7 separate regions of the Homo sapiens genome follow, and regions 2, 3, 4, 5, 6 and 7 are each linked to region 1. Evidence: promoter capture Hi-C in 16 types of primary human blood cells and fetal thymus (Javierre and others, 2016). All regions are on one chromosome and are shown on one strand. Each heading gives the region's core, a stretch centred on a gene start or on the middle of the fragment in contact. The rest is flanking DNA. Distances are from core to core; before and after follow the strand shown. Region 1 holds the start of ARSJ (arylsulfatase family member J). Region 2 overlaps ANK2 (ankyrin 2). Region 3 overlaps ANK2 (ankyrin 2). Region 4 overlaps ANK2 (ankyrin 2). Region 5 overlaps ANK2 (ankyrin 2). Region 6 overlaps ANK2 (ankyrin 2). Region 7 overlaps LOC105377374 (a long non-coding RNA gene).

Region 1 (2,546 bases), core at 25-2,524:
ACAGCAGCTAGCAAGGTTAACTTCATGGAGCACCATCGTGCCTTTCAAAGTTCCCATTTCACAAAGTTTTGCCTGGGAACTCAGCAGGAACTTTAGCAACAGGAGAGAATTAGAAATAAATGGCTAAATGAAACCTAGATTTATGTTTCAGTCAATTGAGAGAATCTGACATGTTATGTGCCAGCCCACAGTAGGTATTCAGTAAGTAACTGTTGAATAAATTTGGTGGTAGAAAAAAATATCTCAGTGGCTCTTGGCATTCATTGCCTCTTCTATAGAGACTATACTATACATCCCTCTGCTGCCTTTGAGCAGGACTTTAAAACTCTATGACTCTAGTAAAATCAAGAGTATTTTCACAACCAAGATAAGTTTTTACAATGGTTTTCCTCCACATGGTAAAAAAGAAAGAAGGAAAAAAAATGATGAAGCTCCCTGAATTACTGGATGGGAAACACTGGCTTCTTTAATGCAGGAATGCAGACTGGCTTCGGGGTTCTTGAAGGAGAAATGCATAACTCTTCCTCTCCAGGCTTTTGGCTGGAGACACCCTGTGGGTAAGTTAGGGGAGAGGTAAGAGGGAGCGGGCAATTCCAGTATTTTCACATAGGGAAAGGGTAACGAAGAATCAGGCTGTAAAAGCCAGCTATTGGGAGAGGAAATAAAACTTAAAAATTTGTCATCGTTACTGAAAAAAAAAAAAAAAAAGGTAGGGACAAAAGGAATAGGAAAATGATGGGGGTGGGGGGACTAGTAAAGGAAAACCTGCAAAGGAAGTTGGAAAGAGGAAAGAGTGTCATACGCATTTTGTTTTTATTCCTGCTCCTTCTCTCTCACTCCCTCCAGAAGCTAGAAAAAGTTTGCAAGCGCAACTTTAGGGATGGGAGACGGGGCTCTTCACCAACAGCCCCACGAAAAGAAGTGCCCGCTTTACCCTTCCCCATTCGCGCCGCCGTCCTTTCCCTCTAGCGGGGTGATGGGCAGGAGGCGACACTCTTGGGACGCGGTAGCCCAGGCGGATCCCCCGGAATCCCGCTGGGCTGGAGCAGCACGCAGCTCTCTCTCTGGCAAAGCCTCCTCTGCCTTGGCCATCCACCTCCCGGAAAAGAAAAAGGAAAGATCGAGCCTCTAAACAGTCCTTTTCCCCCACCCCCTCTTCCCGGGGGAGCTCAGGAAGAAAGTACCGTTCTGTGATTCACTGGAGAGAAAAGAGGGAGGAGGCAAAAGAACTCGGAGTGCCAAAGCTAAATAAGTTAGCTGAGAAAACGCACGCAGTTTGCAGCGCCTGCGCCGGGTGCGCCAACTACGCAAAGACCAAGCGGGCTCCGCGCGGACCGGCCGCGGGGCTAGGGACCCGGCTTTGGCCTTCAGGCTCCCTAGCAGCGGGGAAAAGGAATTGCTGCCCGGAGTTTCTGCGGAGGTGGAGGGAGATCAGGAAACGGCTTCTTCCTCACTTCGCCGCCTGGTGAGTGTCGGGGAGATTGGCAAACGCCTAGGAAAGGACTGGGGAAAATAGCCCTGGGAAAGTGGAGAAGGTGATCAGGAGGCCGGTCCACTACGGCAGTTTATCTGTCTGATCAGAGCCAGACGCGACGCGTCCACTTCGCAGTTCTTTCCAGGTGTGGGGACCGCAGGACAGACGGCCGATCCCGCCGCCCTCCGTACCAGCACTCCCAGGAGAGTCAGCCTCGCTCCCCAACGTCGAGGGCGCTCTGGCCACGAAAAGTTCCTGTCCACTGTGATTCTCAATTCCTTGCTTGGTTTTTTTCTCCAGAGAACTTTTGGGTGGAGATATTAACTTTTTTCTTTTTTTTTTCCTTGGTGGAAGCTGCTCTAGGGAGGGGGGAGGAGGAGGAGAAAGTGAAATGTGCTGGAGAAGAGCGAGCCCTCCTTGTTCTTCCGGAGTCCCATCCATTAAGCCATCACTTCTGGAAGATTAAAGTTGTCGGACATGGTGACAGCTGAGAGGAGAGGAGGATTTCTTGCCAGGTGGAGAGTCTTCACCGTCTGTTGGGTGCATGTGTGCGCCCGCAGCGGCGCGGGGCGCGTGGTTCTCCGCGTGGAGTCTCACCTGGGACCTGAGTGAATGGCTCCCAGGGGCTGTGCGGGGCATCCGCCTCCGCCTTCTCCACAGGCCTGTGTCTGTCCTGGAAAGATGCTAGCAATGGGGGCGCTGGCAGGATTCTGGATCCTCTGCCTCCTCACTTATGGTTACCTGTCCTGGGGCCAGGCCTTAGAAGAGGAGGAAGAAGGGGCCTTACTAGCTCAAGCTGGAGAGAAACTAGAGCCCAGCACAACTTCCACCTCCCAGCCCCATCTCATTTTCATCCTAGCGGATGATCAGGGATTTAGAGATGTGGGTTACCACGGATCTGAGATTAAAACACCTACTCTTGACAAGCTCGCTGCCGAAGGAGTTAAACTGGAGAACTACTATGTCCAGCCTATTTGCACACCATCCAGGAGTCAGTTTATTACTGGAAAGTAAGTGTTCCTACTTCTTATATTTATTCCTTGGAGAAATCTTAAGCATTTAATGAAGATCC
Region 2 (2,546 bases), core at 19-2,518, 710 kb after region 1:
CTGGACAAGGAAGGACCTTCCTGCGAGCAGGACCTGGGTGCAAACACATTGGCTGACAGAGGAACTGAGGCCACTGTGGTCCCCTGCTCTCCAGTCTGTCCAGCAAAATGTGTCTTATGCTCTGGACTGGTGAATAGAGTGTTCTGCGTGAACTTTAAAAATTACAGATGTTATTATGAGTATATGGTTTTTCTTTTGTTATATATTGTGAATAGGCAAAACATATGACTTAGACCCATGAGATATTATTTCTAAACCTGATTGAGAAGATTGTGAACTACGCAGCAATCTCAACCTTGGAGCTCAATGTAGTAGCTTGGCACAATTTTTTACTATCTCTTCTTCGGGAGAGGGTGAATTCTCGAGCAATGTTATTAGGTTTAGAGAGGAAGTTTCCAAAAGTGTGTGTGTGTGTGTGTGTGTGTCTGTGCGTGCATGTGCACGCATGCGTGCGGTGAGAAATCAAGAGGTAAAATAGCAGATATGTGCTCATTTTTCTGCCCAATACCCCCTGCACCCTTCTTCTGGGACAGCCATCCCTCATTTGGGGGAAACGGACATCCCATATTCCATGTGGTTCTAGAAGGGCTGCTGGTCTTCTTATCCCACCTCATAAATGGGCCGCATGAATGCGCATGAGCCCAAGCTTGATCTTTTATCCTGATCATAGTCATAAGCTCAGGGAAAGAATGTGACTAATTAGAAACCAGTGGTTTGTTCGGATGGGAGGAAGAGGGGCTCTCTTTACATTTGAAGTGGGAGATAATGACGTTAGCAGAAAGAGTTAGGAGAAAGATGCGGAATCAGAGGAGAAATCTTTTTCTTATCTTAACTCTGTCACCACAGGTTAATCAGCACAATCTTGAATTTCAGGACGCTAAGCCACCCTACAACACAGGAATCCTCTGGGTATCAAATAAGACACTTTGTGTTTAAATGCTTGATGAATTCTAAAGCACTGTTCAAATGTTAACTAAATCAGAGGCCCAGGAACACATTAAAAGGATTAAATGACAATAAAACACACATGGTGAAAGTACGCTTTAAAATAGGACTTATGAATAGGAAAACCCTAACTTCTTGCTGCTTGAAACATAATCCCAAAATCAGCAGCCCTGACATCACCTGAGAGTTTGTTAAATATGCAGAACTGACTTACAATATGCATTCTAGCAGGGTGCCCAGGTAATTTGTATGCATATTGACCTTTAGGGAGCACTGCTTCACAAGGCTACAGTATTTTTGTTTGTTCACAATAGAAAATGCTATAGGGAAGGGATTTCAGTTGTAGCTTAGAATGGGAGGTAGAGCTGAAAAGAAAAAAAATAAACAAAAGATAACATCTGAAATTTGATATTTAAATTAGAAGGAATAAGGAATTAAGAGGTAGCTATATATGTATTAATGATACTAAATGTAGTTGCAAAAGAGAAGTAAAAAAGTAGAATTGATGAAATCTTTGTGTAAAATTAACTAATTAATTAATATTTTAAAGGAAAGACTCTGTTGCCAGTGGTGCTTTTAAGGAAGAGGCTTCAGAGGGTATCCAAAAAGATAAAAGGTTGTAATAATGGGTTATATCAATACAGAAAAATTTGGCAGAGACACATGAAAATGAATAAATTTCCATTAAAAGTAGAAATTTTAATTTGAATAATAAACATTAAGGGGTTTTACTTTAAGACAGAAATGGGAAACTCTTTCATTATTAAATACGAATTACAAAAAATTTACAGGAACATCAACACAATTTCCAGTAAAGTATACGATAGTCAGAGTGCACTGGTTGACCATAGAAAATATTTTTCAAATAGCTGAATGCCAGGTAACCTTAAAAGGAAACCAGAAAAATGTTATGGCAGGGGAAGCTCATGGTTGAATAAAGCTTTAAATAGATAAGAATATAATAGATCAATGATGATTACCAAAGAACATAAATTACACTATGTGGACAATGCACAGAAAGGCAGATGAAAACCAAGACAACAAGAGTAATGTTAAGGCTACCCGTGTATCACTGGATTCTGCATGAAGATCTGTGGAACCTGTTACAAGAAAATGTCTATTAAATTCATTGAATCAAAGAATGTTAAGAAAGTCTAGAAAGGAGTTTTGAGTTTCTGAGTCCAACCCTCATATTTTACTGATAAAGACTTGGAAGTGGCCGGAGGCTGGCAAGATGGCTGAATAGGAACAGCTCCCATCTGCAGATCCCAGCGAGATCAACACAGATGGCAGGTGATTTATGCATTTCCAACTGAGGTATCTGGCTCATCTCACTGGGATTGGTTAGACAGTGGGTGCAGCCCATGGAGGGCAAGCCAAAGCAGGGTGGGGCTTCACTTCACCTGGAAAGCACAAGGGGTCAGGGAACTCCCTCCCCTAGGCAAGGGAAGCCGTGAGGGACCGTGCCATGAGGAATGGTGCACTCTGGCCCAGATACTACGCATTTCCCATGGTCTTTGCAACCTGCAGACCAGGAGGTTCCCTCGGGTGCCTACATCACCAGGGCCCTGGGTTTCAAGCACAAAACTGGGATGCCATTT
Region 3 (2,546 bases), core at 30-2,529, 680 kb after region 1:
AACACCAATAAATTATAGCCCATATTCTGTATTAGTGGTATTCAACTATAGCTACATATTACAATTATTAGAAACATTTAAAAAATATTGTTGCTTGGGTCCCATCATAGACCAATTAAATCAAAATCCATAGGGATCGGGCCCAGCTATAATGGGGACCAGGGTATTTTTTAAAGGTTCCTTAGGTGGGTTTATTGCACAGCTCAATTTGAGATTCATTTTCCTGTATTAGGGAAAGTATATAAATTGCAGGAAAATGATTTGCATTTAAAATATAACATAGAGACTACCCTACTATGAAATCTTATTCAACTTTTTTTTTTTTTTTTTTGAGATGTCGTTTCACTCTTGTTGCCCAGGCTGGAGTGCAATGGCACGATCTCAGCTCACTGCAACCTCCGCCTTCCAGGTTCAAGCCATTCTCCTGCCTCAGCCTCCCAAATAGCTGGGATTACAGGTGTGCACCAGCACGCCTGGCTCATTTGTGTATTTGTAGTAGAGATGGGGCTTCACCATGTTGGCCTGGCTGGTCTCGAACACTTGACGTCAGGTGATCCACCTACCTCGGCCTCCCAAAGTGCTGGTATTACAGATGTGAGCTACCGCGGCTGACCTTTATTCAACTTTTTGGGAATATTTAAAAATGTGAAAGGATGTCTACTATATTAGACTGTATTAGAAAGTTAATTTTTGCAGAAATGTTTTAGAGTATTTGTCCTTCGTAGTAAACATTTCAATAAGGAGATGATTCTCTGTTTGAAAATAATTACTGGAGATACTTTTTAAATGATTAAGTTTCATTGCCTGATAGTCTCAGTTTCTATTTTCAGGTGCTGATAATGGGACTATATTTTCTTTGTACTTGTAAGAGTGGAAACAATAATTTACTTCAGTTTGGTCACTGAATGCTATCAGAATTATCAGCAAATATATGTGGCAACAGAAAAAGTAATACACTGTGATCATATTGGTCATGGATATTTTTCTGTATAGATATTAAAAATGGCCTCTATATGCAATGTGGTAAATATAATATCATTTATACATGAGAAGGTATTTGACCTTTAGAAGGCCATCATTAAATATTTGTTGAATGGATGGAAAATAAGTAGTCCTACATATGTATAATGTAACAAGAAATGAATACATATTTTCCTTTTAAACAAAATGTCCTTTGAAAACTTGATTATTTAAACATAAACATGGTTTTATGCAACTACCTCTGAATCGTACATAGAGAACAAGGCTATAGTGAAATGATCATGGACATCTCTTTCTGCTACAGAATCCAAGATACTATGGTCAAGATTAGAAACTACTTTAAAAGTTAAAATGAGTAGGACACTAAGTACAAGTTTAATGGGATATAATTAAATCGGATAATATGGCAAAAGAAATGGTATATAATAGATGGAAGAGAGATTTAATAATGAATTTATATTGTTAATCACGATATGAAAAATGTAGAAAATAAAGTAGGAGTTCTTAACATTCTGCTTTACAAATAGTAGTCAATATCTGATTTGTTCTATGCAAAAGAAACTGTGTGTTTAACTGATCTTCACTTAGCCAACCCTCACTCAGCCAATCCTCCTGGTCACCAATTGCATTTATATCACATAATCCCTAAGCCACCACAGCATACTTAGTGATCTTGGTTATGATGCCACCTTTTAAGGCCCTCATCCATAGCTTCCATCAGTGGAGTTCAAGCTAAACTTGTTTTTGTTTCTAAACATACTTATACCAATCATACATATTAATATAACTTTAATAACTAAATTAAATATTATGTAAATACTGTTTTTTTTCTAGAAAAACTAGGGTAGATGTTTTTTGAAGTCCTAACAAAGGTGAGTCACTGAAAGTAATACCCAATTAGATGTAATTGAGACAATTATAACAGGTTGAAAAAACATGTCAAAAGTCTAAAAAGATTCTGCACTAAGTATGTCTTTTTAAGAAAATACACAGCAGGGGCTCAGGACTGTAATCCTAGCATTTTGGGAGGCCAAGGCAGGTGGATCGTTTGAGACGAGCCTGGACAACGTGGCAAAACCCCGTCTCTACAAAACAATACAAAAATTAGCCAGGAGTGGTGGCACCTGCCCACCTACTACTCCCGAGTAGTCCCTGTTACTCTGGAAGCTAAGATGGGAGGATCACCTGAGCTGCAGTGAACCGTGATAGTACCACTACACTTCAGCCTGGGCAACAGCGTGAGATCCTGTCTCAAAAAAAAAGAAAGAAAAGGAAAGTACACAGAACATACAAATATCATATAAATATACATATTATAGCATATATATACATAATATAATAGGTATTGATATTGTTTGTGCAAGAATGGCAATTTAATTTCTAATCGATGGACCTATATTTAAAGAAAAGATCTTGGCTCTACCTCAAAAGGTGTCAAATGACTTTACAAGTATTTATTGTATTGCCATTTTTATGGCTCCTATTTTTAAAATTTTTAAATTGTTGTGGATACACAGTTGTACATACTTACGGGGTACAAGTGATATTTTGATATAAACATAAGT
Region 4 (2,546 bases), core at 24-2,523, 640 kb after region 1:
TGTATTTTTAAATCTAAGCATAAATATTTAAAAGTTATAATAGATAAATAAGCTTTCCTTCAAATTTGGAAAATACCGGTCACTGTGCCTAATTAATGAGTTGGCTATTATTTGTCCTGTTCTCATCCTTAAATATAGTCTATAAAAATTCAGGTTGACTTTGAACCTCAAAAATAAAAATGATTTGTTTCCCAGGGCTGTAAAACGTTACAAATATGGTTAAAAAGAAAACTCTGAAGATGACTGAAAAGCGAAAATTTTCTATTACTAAAGGAAGTCAAATTCTGCCTTGATCTTGAAAAAAATGCATCACAAAATTCCATGTATATATTACCTTGACAAATAGAGGAAGTCTATTTTCTTTGAAGGCAAAAAAACTGAATATATGATGCTGGCCACTTTTAGTTAATGGTACCAAGTTGCCGAAACAATCAACGTAGATGGGTTTTCCTTCTAACACCTGAGTGAAAACAGAGAGAAATAACAATAAAGTAGCTGCAATTATACTTGTTGTTTACACAAAGAAGTGGTAGTACTACTTGGAACTTCAAATTCTTATAATACACATACAACCATCTTTAAATTGACAACTGACATTCTGTCTATCTGTGACACAGCATGTCCAGCACTCTTTCTTCTTACTAGTAATGGGAATCTTTAATGCATGGTGACATTTAATGTTCTCATTCCAAAAAGTGTATCCCATTATTCCACAACCCCAAAATACATTTAAATCCTAAATTTAAACTTATGCTTGGGTAATTTTTTTTTTTTTTTGAGACGGAGTCTCACTCTGTTGCCCAGGCTGGAGTGCAGTGGTGCGATCTTGGCTCACTGCAACCTCCGCCTCCCGGGTTCAAGCAATTCTCCTGCCTCTGCCTCCTGAGTAGCTGGGATTACAGGCATCTGCCACCACGCCCAGCTAATTTTGTATTTTTAGTAGAGATAGGGTTTTGCCATGTTGGCCAGGTTGGTCTCGAACTGGTGACCTCAGATGATCCACCCACCTCGGCCTCCCAAAGTGCTGGGAATACAGGCGTGAACCACCACACCTGGCCTGCTTGGGTAACTTTTGACATCACAATGAGTCAGGTTACTGGACTTCAACACCCAAAGACCTACACTGATGGAAAATTCTGAAATAAGAAAAAGTAATGTAGAAAAGCACTAGACACCCTGCTTCAACATTTATGCAAAAAGATATACTTCCCAGACTGTTTTAGTTACTATTAAAAAATAAGGACAACAAGGAAAGCTAAAAACATCTAAAGTACTACAGTCACTTACATACTTTGAGTTTATCAATAACTCATAATTTTTCCTCAAATAATCTTTAAAGGAATCATCTTACCTTCTCACATGCACAGATCATTCCTATTGAATAGGTCCAAAATGGCTAAAAATGGCAGATTTTGGATGTTGACCTTCTAACTGACCAAAATGCGAACTTGTCTTTCACTTTTTAATTATTCTATTTATTAAATGATATTTGAAATGTAATCTATTAATGCAGGTATAACAACATGGCATAAATTATTATTATTATTTTTGGTACAGTACCTCCACATCCCTGCTTCTGGCCACCTCAGCAAAATTTTCTTGTTGTTCAAGGGTCTTATCCACTTTATCATCAGTCATGCAGAAACACCTCAACCTGGCTTCAATGGGGTCATGTGATTTGGCAAACACTACAAATTTGGCCATATAAGGTACGCAGATAATTTCTCTGTATACTTGTGATGCAAAAGTAACGGATTCCTGGATCTGTCGACAATCTATCAGCCAGAACCTATTAAAATAAATAAAGTCAGTTATCTAAAGTTCAAAGTATACCATGTGAAAAATAAAATCAGTTCCTTCAATATGATCAAAGTAGTCAACAAATGCTTCTTGGAAAAAAGGAAGTGAGAGAGGGAGATAATGAGAGAAGGCCAAAGGAAAGAAATAGCAAGACAGGAACAAAAGGAAAGGTAGGAGGAAAGAAGGGAAAGCAGAAGGGAGTGAAGAGAAGAGAGAAAGATATCAGGTTTAAGATCAACTATTAAATACTGTATTTCTAATTTTCTTTTTTGGAAACTCTTCTGAATATTCAGTTTTCTGAACTATATATTTAGTGTTTTGGAATCCTTTAGTGGAGTGAACTCAATAGCAGACATAAGACAAGGATCTCACTGCATAGTTTTCTATTTTCCTTGATCCCCCCTCCCTAGCTGTCATTTCATTTCCTGAAACTCTTTTCAACAAAATCTACCCAGCTTTTCCTCCCCTCGTTATTCTTTTCCATGGAACTCTAATCACCAAAGTGGAATCAACCCAACCATTTTAAAAAACCTGCTCCAGAACTCCTAAGTATTGCTGAATATAATTCATAGAAGAAATTATTGGCTATAATGACTTTATGATTTCCAGCCTCAACTAAGTCTGTGACATTGACTGGCAATTTTTTGTTCACTATGGTAACGTTACTAAATCTTATGACACTCTTTAAGCTTCATCCCTCACCACAGGCCCTAAGAGAGCTAACTTCACAAAGAAAGTCGAGGTCA
Region 5 (2,546 bases), core at 28-2,527, 620 kb after region 1:
TCTATGACAGGAGAGGAACCACAGTACTGATTCATTCAAAGAAAGGAAGTCACTTCTCCAAATATTTGAAAGCACAAACTAGATACTACATTTCAGATCATATTGTGTGTCTGATTTCTGGGGTGGAATGGGGAATAGATCTAATATGAATCATGAAAACCATCTGCTTCCATATCTCTTTAATCAAGACTAGTTCTAGACATAATTATATAAGTTGCTGATTTCTAGTAATCTTATGACTTTTAAATTATTGGAGAGAATACTGCCCACCAAGAAGACCACCATCTTGTTCATGAAACACCAGAGAAATCATAAATGGGATGCAGAAGTAGAGCAATTGGCTAGGACCTCCTATTATTGCTTGTGGAGGGATAGATCATTTCCAGGTCATGTCTGAAAGGAATCACATCAGAGATTCACAAGAGATGTTGATCATGAGCTGATCAGGCCATCCTGATTAGTGTGGCCAGAAACAACATTTGGTCCTGGTGACCTTGGAGAAACGAGGATAAAAGCATATGCATTTTTATGTGTATATTGTATCTGTATGCATATATGTCTTTTGGGCAAAGTTTCTGCCTTCTTGCTATTAAGCTTATATACTACTCACTCCTATAAACTATAATTTTCCCATTCATGTTTAACTCCCACTGATTGATAGGCAGCATTTTAGACCATGGTATAGGAAAGTTTGTATAACCTCAATTTAAGAATGACAGTCTTCATTGTAGAGATATTGGAAGAACACAGGCTACTTTTCAAAGCCATCTATGGTTTCCTTTTTTATAAGTCAAAGAGCCATCATCCCCTCACAGTCAACTTAAACTGTGCAAAGTTTGAGTTTTTGTTGTCTGCTGCATCTAATGAGAGTACATTCTCCATTCATCTACCACATAAATGAAAAGCATATTTTTACCTTAGGTTTGTTTGCTTAAAGTATTTACCAATGGTATCTGAAATCCAACCTTTCTGAATCAAAAACAGATCCACAACAATTAGAATTTCATGTTATGTGAAATCTTCTCAAGCAAATGGCTTCCTAATGATTACAAAATTGTAAGTACAAATTATTTTAAAGTATGCGAAGATAAGAAGAAAAGCAATGTCTTCATACTATGAAACAAAATACAATATATTTATGTGCAAAAGTGCTTAATTTGAGTCTAAGCTTGGGACTTCAGAACAACAAAACTCAAAGCTCGCATGGCCTTATTACGTGCAGAGGCTAAAAAAGGCAAGATCACTGTTGCCCGGTTATTATGTTTATGTTTTCCATAAGCATTCTCATTACTCAATCTTGAGATTGTTTTCTTAGACAAGAGTATACAGAGAAAGCACAAAACACAAAGGGCTTACACAAACACATTAGCCACTACAGAAAGCTTAAAGAAAATGAGACACAAATCATCAAATAAAACAAACATACAAAAAAACTATATCAATTTTATGACATGCGTAGCACAGGGAATCCCGGTGGCTGGCAAATACCTTCAGCATGGTCATGGCCATTTTCATCAGGGATGCGTTCAATCAGAGTCTCAATAGACTCATCCCAAATGGGCCTTGTGTCAAAGATGTCCTCAGGAACTGAGTGCTCGGTCTCAACAGGTGGCAGATTTTCAATTACTGATACTTCCAGGGCACTACTACTTTCATCGTCTGAAACTATTTCCTGCTCCCTCTCTGACTGTGTCAGCCTATCCACTAATTTGGAAGCCTCATCACTAATCTCCTCAAAGAATTCTATGGAATTTCTGTAAAGGTCAAAGAAATGCTCCTTACTTTCTTTTGTGGGGCTCGTGCCCCCCCTGCAGGAAGATGTAGTGCTTCTGCTCTTAACTGGCAATCGGGATGTAAGTATCTTTGGTCTTGTGGCCCCTTCTTCTGATTCTAACTCAAGTTCCTCGGCCCTCTCTCTGCTCTCTGTTTCTGTCTCAGTGTAACTTCGGGTTTTTACTGGGCATTTGGTCTTTGAATCCAAAGAACTAGCATCAGATTCAGATTTGCTTCTATTATCTGGTGCGATGCTTGCCATGTCCTGTCCCTGAGGAGCCACTGTCTTCTGGACAGAGGTGTCTAGATCTGAGAGCTGCTGTTCAACTCTTTGGAGGGGTACTTTGACAGGGAGTTTGGACTTTGGTTTTGCTTCATCCGCCTTATTTTCCTCATCTACACTGGATAGAAAATCTTCAGAAACTGAACTCTCATACTCTGCAGATGGAGGTGCTGGGGTGGAAGTGGGCATAGTCCTTACAGGAATTTTGGATTTGCTTTCAGTAAAAGGCACATTCTCCATGGGTGCAGTAGGAATCTCGATTACTGATTTCTGTTCTTCTGGGGAAGAATCGGGAGAATCATCACCCCTATCTGAATAAACAGACCTGGTGAGTGTGGAAAAATCTAACTGGACTTGTACAGCTGGTTCAGAAGAGTCGGGGCAGGATATCTGCTTTACACCAGAGAGAGGAGGTATATCACCCGTTTGCACGGTGGGGAGGTCCTTGGTCCCTACACTAACAGCTTCTTTTGTAGGTGTTTCAGTGGAG
Region 6 (2,546 bases), core at 12-2,511, 600 kb after region 1:
TAGTCAAAACTTTGGGACCAGATGTGTTTCAAAATTTAGATTTTTTTGTCCCTTTTGGATTTTAGCAAGGTAATATAATGCATATACAGTCACATGCTACATAATGACATTTTGGTTAAAAATGGACTGCATATATGACATGGTCCCATAAGATTATAATGGAGCTAAAAAATTCCTGTCACCTAGTGATGCTATAGCTGTTCTAACTTCATGGTGCAATGTATTACTCAGATGTTTGTGGCGATGCTGGTGTAAATAAACCTACTAAGGTGCCAATCATATAAAAGCACAGCACATACAATTATGTAGGGTACATAATACTTGATAATGATAATAAATGACTATGTTACTGGTTTATGTACGGTAAATACATTTACTATGTATAGTAAATACATAAATCAGTAACAGTCACTTATTATCATTATCAAGTATTATAAAAGTGATACTTTTTATCACTATTTTAGAGTGTACTCTTTTACTTATTAAAAAACAGTTAATTATCAAGGAGCCTCAGGCAGGTCCTTCAGGAGGTATTGCAGAATAAGGCATTGTTTTCTTAGGATATGACAACTCCATATGTTATTGCTCCTGAATACCTTCCAGTGGGACAATATGTGGAGGAGGAAGACAGTGATATTGATTATTCTGACCTTGTGTAGGCCTAGGCTAATGTACATGCTTAGGCCTTTGTTTTTAGCCAAAAAAAAAAAAAAAAAAACCTTAAAAAGTAAAAACAAATAATAAATTTAAAAAATTAAAAGCAGAAAAAAGTTTATAGAACAAGGATATGAAGAAAAACAATTTTTAATGCACCTGTGCAATGTGTTTGCATCTTAACTTGTGTTATTACAAAAGAGTCAAAAGTTAAAATAAATGTAAAAGCTTATAAAGTCAAAGAGTTACAGTAAGCTAAAGTTAATTTATTATTGCAGAAGGAAGATTTAAAAAAATTAAAGGAAAATTTAAACAAATGTAACATAGCCTAAGTGTACAGTGTTTATAAAGTCTACTGTAGTGTATAATAACGTCCTAGGCTTTCACATTCTCTCACCACTCACTCACTGACTCTCCCAGAGCAACCTCCAGTCCTGCAAGCTACATGGTAAGTATGCTATACAGGTAGAACATTTTTAATCTTTTATTTTGTTTATCTACTGTACCTTTTCTATTTTTAGATAGGGAAATACTTACCATTGTGTTATAATTGCCTACAGTATTCAGCACAGTAACATGCTGTGCAGGTTTGTAGCCAGGAGCAATAGGTTATACCATATAACCTAGAAGTATAGTAGGCTATACCACCTAGGTTTGTGTAAGGACATTCTACAATGTTCACACAATGACAAAGTTGTCTAATGATGCATTTCCCAGCACATATCCCTGTCATTAAAACCCACTTATGCCTAGTGAACACTAGGCATGTGGAAGTTATTTATATCCTACTGCTCAAGGTCATCACCAAGGTCTGATTTTTCACTCATGCAAAAATTTTAAAAATGGCAACCTCTGGCATAAGTGGGTTAAGCAATGCATGACTGTACTATATAATACTAATACTCCAGAGCGAAGATGGCATCCTGTAATCAAACCCATTTTTATGTCACTAAAACATTCACTCTAGGTAGAATAAAAAAGCTTCATGTCATAATAGCTCCATGCCAATTTATTTCAAGTTTCACTTCCAAATTAACTTACAAAATTTGTTTTGGTTTTCAGCATTTGGGGATTTTAGTAAGAGTTTGTGGATCTGTTACTGTGGACCCATTTTCTTTTTCTTTTTTTTCTTTTTTTTTTTTGAGACGAATTCTCGCTCTGTTGCCCAGGCTGGAGGGCAGTGGTGCAATCTCGGCTCACTGCAAGCTCCGCCTCCCAGGTTCACACCATTCTCCTGCCTCAGCCTCCCGAGTAGCTGGGACTACAGGCACCCGCCACCACGCCTGGCTAATTTTTTGTATTTTTAGTAGAGACAGGGTTTCACCGTGTTAGCCAGGATGGTCTCGATCTCCTGACCTTGTGATCCGCCTGCCTCGGCCTCCCAAAGTGCTGGGATTACAGGTGTGAGCCACTGTGCCTGGCCAACCGTGGACCCATTTTCTAATTGTTGGAAACCAGAACTTAAGTAATTGTAAATGCTTTTAAAATTTATGGACATGGAATATATCTGAATTTTCTTTAATGTCTATCACAGATTATATTTGAAAAGACTGGCTAGCAAATATAATTTGCAATGTCTTTATTTCTTTCCCTTATTAATTGACAAAGCAAGACACTTCTGTGACTTTTAAACAAGATGTATAATCATATACCAGCTCCAGAGATTCTGAGTCTGATTCAGCAGAAGCAAATCCTAGTTACCTGGATTTTTAAAAGCTGTTAAGGTGACACCAATGAACACCACAGTTTAAGGAAACGTTACTCTGCAAGTTATTCAAACAGGAGTTCTACCCTCTTGAATTATTCTGCACCTTTCCATGAATTCATGTATAGAATGATACAATGACAAACGATTTTCTTTTCAAATGCAAAGCAACATAAAACACACACAT
Region 7 (2,546 bases), core at 32-2,531, 570 kb after region 1:
AAATTTCCCTCTTTTAATAAGGATACCAGTCAGATTAACGCCCACCCTAATGACCTCATCTTAATTTGATCACTGGCAAAGACCTTATTTCCAAATAAGATCACATTCACAGTTTCTGGGGGTTAGGATTTTATTCTGGTTTGGAGGGACACATTTCAACCCATAAACAAGAAGGAAAAGAGGCAATGTGATTCTGAATCACTGGTTACAATATCTGCCTTTCCAAGTTTGACCTTTTAAAAATGACACTGCCACCTGAGGCTTCCAGTCCCACCATCTGCTTTCTTTTCATATTTGCATAATTAACTCTCTCCTCTCCTTTTTTTTACCCTTTCCCCATCATTTCTCTCTTTTTTTCTGTGCAATGTGAATATCTAAGAACTTGATGCAGACTTTTGAGCCTTCTGTTTTTTTGTCTTTCAATTATCTCATTCATCAGATTAGCTTTAGCCACTGTGGATTATAACCTGCAGTTACTTGTTTAGCAGGGACTTCTAGGAATATATAGTCCTTAAACCCAGGGAAGAGGGGTCTGTGAAGAAGAGAAACATCAGCATCAGTGATGAGATGAATAGTGGCCAAGGAGAGGTGGGATTCTAAATCTGCAAGTCCATTAACCCGGGTCTGGACAATTGAGAAAATTCCCTGTAAAACTACTGATAAAATCTGTGCAATTCTTCCTGGTTGAGACAGGATGCCTCCTCATCCCAGAACCTGGCTGTTATTGTAGAGTAAAATTTGCCCTGGTCTGAAATGTGTATTTATGCCAAGGTGCCACTGGTGCTTCTGAAATAGTCCCTCAACTTACCCCTAGCAATATATACGTAGTACAAGAACCAGGTAAGCCCACTAGAAAATTAATCTAAAGCTCCTGGATCTAGGACTAGTGAGCAATTAGCATCTCTGTGGTTGGTGCTTTTTAGCAAGAAAAATCTAATTGTGTTTTAATGGTTTCTGGGACTGCAGTGTCATGAGTATTATTTCTTCTCTTTCAATCTACGTTTATTACCATGGATTAAATGTGTTTTTCATATTTCCCTCTGTACATTCTTGCTTTATATGTGTGCCTGTTCCAGATTGCATTCTAAGATTGTAAACTGCCATAGTAGTGTTCCCCAAACTGTGGCATGCATAAAAATCATTGAGAAATTTATTTTTAAAAATCCGTATATAGGTCCGGGAACAGTGGCTCACACCTGTAATCCTAGGACTTTGAGAGGCCGAGGTGGGTGGATCACCTGAGGTCAGAGGTTCAAGACCAGCCTGGCCAAAATGTCAAAACCCCATCTCTACTAAAAATACAAAAATTAGCTGAGCATGTTGGCGCATGCCTGTAATCCCAGCTACTCAGGAGGCTGATACAGGAGAATCACTTGAACCCAGGAAGCGAAGGTTGCAGTGAGCTGAGATTGGGCCACTGCACTCCAGCCTGGACAACAGAGTGAGATGGAAAAAAAAAATTCTTGTATGGGTTTACTACCTAAAGAGATTCTGAATCAAGATCTGGAAGAGGGATCTTAGAACCTGTATTTGTAACAAGTACCCTCTTTGGTTCTGATACAGCTGATCCTTGGATCCCATTTTAAGAAACATAAACCAAGAAGGTGGGAACTGATTTCTTTTAAGATTACTTATATCACTCATGAGGATTGCCCCAGGCCGGTAGATATTTAACCAACTCTAGTTGTTGGCTGCTGATGTTAATTGTCTGCTAAGTACATCTTATGGCCAACTTGCTGTACAGAAATTGAGTTTCATATAGTCCATTAGCCACTGAGAAACAGAAGAAAAGCCTGATGGATTTTCTTCCTGAATGGTAGAGATGAGCATCAATGTTTAAACAAGCCTGGAAAACTCCCTCTTTTCTTTGATGCCCTGTAATTCCTTTATTACAACGGGTCTTGTGGATTGCTATTTTTGTATGGATAACAACATATAGATGAAAAAGCATTTGTACGTACAGAGATGTACTCATTTCTCCCTCTCTGTGGCCCATCACCCTGTCACCTCTCTTCACATTTTCCTGCTGTCAGTTGAGGAAGATGCATTTATTTTATCAATCACAAAAATATTGCCCACAAAGAGAAGTACCTCATTAGGGCCAGAAGCACTGTGCCCTAGCTAAATAAATTTTCACCTAGCAGGCAAGGAAAACTGAGAAATACAAGCCCCCACTAGGGCTAAGGTTCCAGCATAGACAGAGCCCTAATTTTGATGCCTCCAGCAGACACTTCCTCTGACTCCCTTTGGGGAAGCATAGCACCCCACGTTCCCCTTATCCCATGACAGCCCTTATCTAGAATTGCATCATTGACAGTTCACTTGTCTGAATCTCATTCTAATTTCTCCTTGAGGAGTAGGAACTATGTCACAATCATCTGTGTATCCACAGCTCTTGGCAAACTGCCTGACCTAAAGTAGGCGATGAATCAATAAACTAAGCTCCTGGAAAAGTAGAGCTAGTTCTCCTAAATGCTTCTAGGGAAATTCCTAGTTTCTGTGGTGGTGTTGGGTCTGTACTGGAATTCACCCGGCAGCCCAGCCAG

The links. Contacts are between HindIII fragments. The CHiCAGO score rates a contact against its expected background, and 5 or more counts as called.
Region 2: a fragment that was not itself captured here is called in contact with the fragment with the promoter of ARSJ in region 1 in 1 of 17 cell types (M2 macrophages); the score reaches 5.7 in M2 macrophages.
Region 3: a contact is called between a fragment that was not itself captured here and the fragment with the promoter of ARSJ in region 1, in 1 of 17 cell types (M2 macrophages). The highest score is 5.5, in M2 macrophages.
Region 4: a contact is called between a fragment that was not itself captured here and the fragment with the promoter of ARSJ in region 1, in 1 of 17 cell types (M2 macrophages). The highest score is 5.1, in M2 macrophages.
Region 5: a contact is called between a fragment that was not itself captured here and the fragment with the promoter of ARSJ in region 1, in 1 of 17 cell types (M1 macrophages). The highest score is 5.8, in M1 macrophages.
Region 6: a fragment that was not itself captured here is called in contact with the fragment with the promoter of ARSJ in region 1 in 2 of 17 cell types (M2 macrophages and M0 macrophages); the score reaches 5.4 in M2 macrophages.
Region 7: a contact is called between a fragment that was not itself captured here and the fragment with the promoter of ARSJ in region 1, in 4 of 17 cell types (activated CD4 T cells, naive B cells, total B cells and 1 more). The highest score is 7.1, in activated CD4 T cells.

Annotation. Positions count from the first base shown.
Region 1 is chr4:113,978,375-113,980,920 of GRCh38, reverse strand. It overlaps ARSJ (arylsulfatase family member J), which reads left to right and starts at 1,274. Exons shown (of 2, transcript NM_024590.4): 1 at 1,274-2,484. The coding sequence starts at 2,087. LOC107986305 (a long non-coding RNA gene) reads right to left here and starts at 1,108. Exons shown (of 2, transcript XR_001741794.2): 1 at 935-1,108; 2 at 1-551. LOC124900762 (a long non-coding RNA gene) reads left to right here. Exons shown (of 3, transcript XR_007058237.1): 3 at 1-26. The HindIII fragment of the contact is 10,512 bases long and covers 1-2,546 here.
Region 2 is chr4:113,269,359-113,271,904 of GRCh38, reverse strand. The region is part of intron 14 of ANK2 (ankyrin 2); the gene reads right to left. Among named protein-coding and RNA genes, the nearest start is that of MIR8082, 120 kb to the right of the region's middle. The HindIII fragment of the contact is 1,239 bases long and covers 649-1,887 here.
Region 3 is chr4:113,297,491-113,300,036 of GRCh38, reverse strand. The region is part of intron 22 of ANK2 (ankyrin 2); the gene reads right to left. Among named protein-coding and RNA genes, the nearest start is that of MIR8082, 150 kb to the right of the region's middle. The HindIII fragment of the contact is 5,350 bases long and covers 1-2,546 here.
Region 4 is chr4:113,340,931-113,343,476 of GRCh38, reverse strand. ANK2 (ankyrin 2) reads right to left here. Exons shown (of 46, transcript NM_001148.6): 33 at 1,561-1,789; 34 at 335-460. Among named protein-coding and RNA genes, the nearest start is that of MIR8082, 190 kb to the right of the region's middle. The HindIII fragment of the contact is 2,437 bases long and covers 55-2,491 here.
Region 5 is chr4:113,358,242-113,360,787 of GRCh38, reverse strand. ANK2 (ankyrin 2) reads right to left here. Exons shown (of 46, transcript NM_001148.6): 38 at 1,489-2,546. Among named protein-coding and RNA genes, the nearest start is that of MIR8082, 210 kb to the right of the region's middle. The HindIII fragment of the contact is 214 bases long and covers 1,171-1,384 here.
Region 6 is chr4:113,374,975-113,377,520 of GRCh38, reverse strand. The region is part of intron 45 of ANK2 (ankyrin 2); the gene reads right to left. Among named protein-coding and RNA genes, the nearest start is that of MIR8082, 220 kb to the right of the region's middle. The HindIII fragment of the contact is 753 bases long and covers 885-1,637 here.
Region 7 is chr4:113,411,566-113,414,111 of GRCh38, reverse strand. All of the region lies in intron 2 of LOC105377374 (a long non-coding RNA gene), which reads left to right. Among named protein-coding and RNA genes, the nearest start is that of MIR8082, 260 kb to the right of the region's middle. The HindIII fragment of the contact is 3,805 bases long and covers 1-2,546 here.